Linked DNA regions of Homo sapiens: region 1 is linked to region 2. The links are contacts of gene promoters, found by promoter capture Hi-C in blood cells and fetal thymus (Javierre and others, 2016). All regions are on one chromosome and are shown on one strand. The core of a region is centred on a gene start or on the middle of the fragment in contact, and the rest is flanking DNA. Distances in the headings are between cores, read along the strand shown.

Evidence for each region. Contacts are between HindIII fragments. The CHiCAGO score rates a contact against its expected background, and 5 or more counts as called.
Region 1: a fragment that was not itself captured here is called in contact with the fragment with the promoter of COL27A1 in region 2 in 6 of 17 cell types (endothelial precursors, M1 macrophages, M0 macrophages and 3 more); the score reaches 12.3 in endothelial precursors.

The regions. Positions count from the first base shown.
Region 1 is chr9:114,298,283-114,301,069 of GRCh38, forward strand. COL27A1 (collagen type XXVII alpha 1 chain) reads left to right here. Exons shown (of 61, transcript NM_032888.4): 50 at 1,788-1,841; 51 at 2,343-2,405. Among named protein-coding and RNA genes, the nearest start is that of ORM1, 23 kb to the right of the region's middle. The HindIII fragment of the contact is 8,509 bases long and covers 1-2,787 here.
Region 2 is chr9:114,154,263-114,156,962 of GRCh38, forward strand. It overlaps COL27A1 (collagen type XXVII alpha 1 chain), which reads left to right and starts at 1,275. Exons shown (of 61, transcript NM_032888.4): 1 at 1,275-1,750. The coding sequence starts at 1,689. It overlaps LOC105376225 (a long non-coding RNA gene), which reads right to left and starts at 6. Exons shown (of 5, transcript XR_930256.3): 1 at 1-6. RefSeq lists silencers at 1,140-1,259, 2,147-2,441. The HindIII fragment of the contact is 6,106 bases long and covers 1-2,700 here.

The DNA.
Region 1 (2,787 bases), core at 123-2,622, 140 kb after region 2:
GAGCTACAGATTAAATATAATCCCTATCAAAATCCAAGCTGACTTTTTAACGAAATCTGACAAATTGATCCTAAAATTCATATGGAAATGCAAGTGGCCCAGAATAGCCAAAATTTTGATCTTTAAAGAAGATCAAAGTTGGACAACTCACACTTCCCAATTTCAAAACTTATTACAAAAGTATAGTAATCAAGACAGAAATAAAACCTTACATTTATGTCTGTTGTTTTTAGCAAGAGTGCTAGGGCAATTGAATGGGAAAAGAATTTTTTTTCAATAAACAGTGCTGAGACAATCACACAATCACATATCACGTACCAGAGAAGTAATTTGGACCTCTGCTTCACACCACATGCAAAAATTAGCTAAAAATGAAGTATAGACCAATGTAAAGGCTAAAACTGTACAACTGTTAGAAAACATAAAAACACATTTTTATAACCTTGTGTTAGGTAATAGTTTCTTAGATATGACACCAACAAAAGCGAAGTACATAGATTGGACTTCATCAAAATCAAACACTTTTGTGCTTCCAAAGGCACCATCAAGAAAGTGAAAAAACTCACAGTAGGGGAGAAAGTATTTACGAATCATATCTCTGATAAGGAACATGTATCTCTAATATATAAAGAACCCTTACAACTCAAGAATAAAAAGACAATCCAAATTTAAAACGGACAAAGTATTCAAGTAGACATTTTTTCCAAAGGAGATACACAAATATCCAATAAGCATTGATAAGACAAATGAAAACCACCAAGAGAACCACCAATAGCTCAATAAAGCTATTATCTTTTAAAAATGAACAGGTAGAATTTAGATTAAATGGGACCCTCCCGAAGCCTGACCCCTCAGCCTACCTCCATCAGCACTGGGTCTTGACCTGCCTGGTCTCATTGCATCCTTCCAGCCCCTTGGGAGGGAGATGACGTATTATCCTATTTTACAGATGAGGAAACTGAGGCTCAGTAAAGGGAGGTGACTTGCTCCTGGTCTTATAATATAAGGCTAGGAGATTCTAATACATGGCTTTCTGCTTATGAGCTTGAAGGCCAAGCCCCAAGAATGTGTAATAATGGCAGGCTCTTCTGCCTCCAGGGGCCCCCAGCCCTCCCTTCTTGGCTCAGACCCCAGCATGCCCCCTTGCCAATTGCTCTCCTAACCCTTTACAAGATTGGGAGCAGAGGTCAGGAAAGGAGGCCAAAGGTTCCTGGAATCGTTCACACTGGGTTTGAATCTAGCACAGTCCACAACATGGTGTCTGCGTGACTTTTAGCAAGTTCCTGCCCTCTCTGAGCCTGTTTCCTCATCTGTAAACAGGGGATATGGTGTGTCCCTGGGTTGATGTGGGAGCATGGAAGTGTGGCGGTCCAGGCAAAACATCCGGCACCTAACAGGCCCTCAGTGAACTGGGTTATTTTTAGTTTTTAGGGGAATCCTTCCTTAACAGAGCTTTTCAGAGCTGTGGGAGGAGGCTGCAGGCCCTTTTATTCTGTCCCTTGAAGACCTGGGACAGGAGCTCCTGAGTGTGGCAGAGCCTCCTCTGTGGAATCCCTGAGCCGGGCTCCTCTTTCTCATCTGACGGAGAGCACAGGCTCCCCTCAGAGCCCAGGCGGACTGGCATCTAGTTTGTGAGCTGTTCACACTCACTTGGTCGCTTCACAGAGGAGTCACTGATATCCCTGGAAAGGCTGGGAGGGAAAAGGCAGGCCCTGAGGTCCCAGGTGGCTGGCGGGACACGCTGACCATGAGCTCACTCGCTCCATCACTTCCTGTTCTTCCTGCAGGGCGACTCTGGCGAGATGGGCTTCCCAGGAATGGCAGGTCTCTTCGGACCCAAGGTATGGACTCCCACGGCTCACTGTTCCTGTGGGGTCCCATCCATTCACCCCATTCATTCATTTATTCATTCAACAAATATTTATGGAGCACTGAAAACATTGGCTGGAAAACAGCCAGAATCAGGCATGAACACCCTCATCCCCCAGTACTCCAGAAGATCTAGGTTCCAAGCCCAGCTACACAATTACCTGCTCTGTGCCTTGCAAAGTCACTTAGTCTCTCTAAGCCTTGGTTTCCTCATCTGTAAAATGGGAGCAATGACAGTAGAAGACTGTTGCAAAAATAAAGACCAGGGGCATATGCCACACAGCACTGAGCCAACACACTGCTGGTACCTGCTGAATAATTGTAGGTGTTTCTTACTCCTTCTGGGGCCTCTCAGGTAAGGCCTCTCTTGACAAGAAGGGCAAAGGTTGACAGACCCCAGGGGTGAGGGAGCTGTGGGGGCCCTTTACCCAGTGGCTGCCAAGTACAGACAGCCCTTTCTCTGCCTCCCACAGGGCCCGCCTGGAGACATTGGCTTCAAAGGCATCCAGGGCCCTCGGGGGCCACCTGGCTTGATGGTGAGTTCCCTCCCTGCTGTCGGAGCAGAGATGATTGTCCTAGGCCCAAGGTTGGCCAGCCATCAGCTGGCCTGTCTTCATCCTCCTCTTGCTCCTTGACTCATGAGCCCTTTCTGCCCACAGGCCTGGTTCCCACCTTCACTCCTGCCGTTCCCACCAGCTCAGCCCCCATCCTTCCCCGCTTTCACTCTTGCCCCCATCGCCCCACTCTTGAAGTCCACCCCTAGGCACAAATGAGGGGCTCAGGAGATGCATGGCCTGGGCCCGCTTCAGATGGTCTCCCTTCTACTCCCTTGCGACGCTCGGGCTGCCCTCCACCCCGCTCCCCGTGTCTGTTCCCCAGGCCCTGGAACAAGGACACATGAGCCTTTCTGTCTCCTTT
Region 2 (2,700 bases), core at 25-2,524:
GGACCTCGCCCCCCGCCCCCGCGCCCACGGCTGCGGGGACCCATGAATACAAATGCCGTTAGGCGCCGGAGGAAGGACCGACCGGCCAGCCTCGCACGTAGGGACCCAGTAAGTGCTTGGGGGCTCCTGGAGCGGTGCGAAGTGTTATATGCCTGTGTGTGCGCGCGCCTAAAGGTGTGCGCGTATGGGGAGGTGGGTACACGCGTGAGGAGTGAATGCGTGTGTGCACATGTGCGGTGGGCACTCTCGGAGAACTGTGTGCAAGTGAGGGTGTGCGCGCGTGTGTCCACCCGGGGTGTGTACATGTGTGGGGGCGATATGGCCAGGATAGCGTGCATTTGTGCCTGTGTAAGCATCCGTGTGCATGCTTCTGCGAGTGTAGAGTATCAGCGTGCGCCTGAGCCCAGATATCTGAGGATGCGTTTCGTGTGAACCTAGGAAGGGTGCGTGGCTGTCCCAGAATGGGACCGTGTGTGAGCGTGTGTCTGAGTTTGGGGAAAGGGTGGATACGTGTGGGAGTGTGTGTGTGCACCGGTGAATAAGTGTAACTTTGCTCGTGAACGAGTGGCAAGAGGTGGTAGAGGCGGAGGGAGCTGTGGTCCCAGGGCTGGACTGGAGTTTTGGGTGTGAGAATTTGCCCGGGGGCCAAGGTGTGCAGCTCTTAGCTCCCGGATGGGATCCGAGGGAGTTTTTGTCGATTCTGGGGAGGTGCGTGGTTAGTGGTGGTGGTGGGGTGCGGTTAGATTCCAATTGCTGACAGAAGGGAGAGAGAGGGTGGCAAACCCTTAACAAGCCCACCCTATATGTTCTCCAGGGCGCTCCGAGTCTGGGAGCGCAAACTTTTGGTGGGCGGTGGGGATCACGATACTGGTTGTCGTGGGCGTCTGGACACCAAGTTCTGGTCCTAGCTCCGTCCCTGAAACTGTGGGTTTCTTCCAGGAGTAGAATTTGGCCCTTCTCCCCTACCCCAACCCCCCATTGGAGGACCCCCAGCCTCACCAGTCAGAAGTTCCTAATCTCAGAACGGTGATCAAATCACCGTGAAGCCCTGGGCAGCCCCTTCCTCTCTGTGAATCTGTTTCCCCATCTATACAAGGAGGAGGGGGGCGGGTGTCCCATCGGGGCTGTAGTGGGCCAGCTGAGGCTGTACCCTTGGCTCCGGCCGGCAGGGGGCAGCAGGGGGCAGCAGAGGGCGGCCGGGAGCGGGGAGGAGGGAAGGTGGAGAGCCACCGCGGGCCGAGACTTTAAATCGCCTTCATTTCCCCCAAATCCTTCCTTTTCCTCTCCTCCCCCAGGCCGGCGGGGAGGCAGCTTCCACCGCCCTCCGCGCGCCCTCACCCGGCCTTGCTCTGCCTCCGGGGACCGCCAGCAGCCCGCCTCCAAAAGTTTGATCATCTCTCTCTCTCTTTTTCTTGCTTCTTCTTCCTTTTTGGTGGAAGCAGAAAAGGACCGAGGCAGGGGCGAGCGCGGCGCCCGGACTCCTGGGACCATGGGCCTGGCGCGGGCGCCCGCGGGGCCCCAGCCGCGCTGCCTGCCTGCTCGGGCGCCCCTGGGCGCGGGGCTGCGCTGGGGGCGCGGGGGCCGCGCGCTCTAAGCCGGCCTGGCGCGGCGGGGCGGGGGGCTGGCGGCCCCATGGGGCGCGCCCACACTTGCCCCCCGGGCTCGGGAGCATGAAGTAGGGGCCTGCCATGGGAGCGGGATCGGCGCGGGGGGCCCGAGGCACAGCGGCGGCGGCGGCGGCGCGCGGGGGGTGAGTACGAACTCGGGGACGCCCCCTCCCTAGCTTCCTGCTGCTCCAATCTCGGGGAGGGCCGGGGTTCCCCGCCATGCGGTCGCTTCCAGCGGAACGTCAGCTTCCTGCCCCTTCCTGCGCCCCCGCGAGGCGGGACGCCAAGGGTTAATAGGGGCTGCGCCCCCGGCCGGGCGAGAGTTGGCGAACGCTGCCCGCCCTGCCGCGCCTGGCCCGGCTGCCCGATCCCGTTGGGGCGGGGGCAGAGCCAGCCCGGGGGTCGGGGGTGGGGGTGGGTGGTGGCGCCTGGAGCGGCCGGCGGGGTGCGGAGGGGGGCTTTTTGGATGCTTGGGGGAGGAGGGGGGTCTCCGTTTGGGGCCGTCTCGGTGTGTTCCGGTGTCTCAGTGTCTGCAGGTCCCAAGCCTGTACGTCTCCGTTTCTATCTGTTCTTGTGAAATTGTCCGCAAGTTTCTAGGTCACCAGGTCTCGGGTTCTGCTCCTGTCTCCGTGTCTGTGTGGCTCTGCACGTCCCCGCGTTTCTGGAAATCTCCGCGTGTTTGTGTTAGTCGGCCTGGGTCTGTGTGTCTGTGTTTCCTGCTTCTCGGTTCCTGTCCCTTTCACGTGTGTAAGAGAGAAAAAGTGAGAGCCAGCATGTCAGAGCAGAAAGGGCCCTGGGCGATCACTGTGCGGAACCCCTCAGTGTACAGATCGGGAGACAGGGCCGGAGAGGGGCAGGGACTCTCCCAGGAGCGGCTGCGCGGAGCTGGGGCCCAGAGGCTGGGATTCCCAGCGTGTGGAGTAGGAGTTGTAAGAGAGAGTGAGCCTGTGCTGGAGCCGGCGCAGCGTGTGGGTGTGTGTGGGAGCCAGCAGCATGCAAGCAGCCCGTTGGGGCCTGTGGACGGCGCTCCTCTCTTTCCATCCTGCCCCCAGGACACCAGGACACTCCCCAGAGGCTGTTAGGGCTGTAGCTG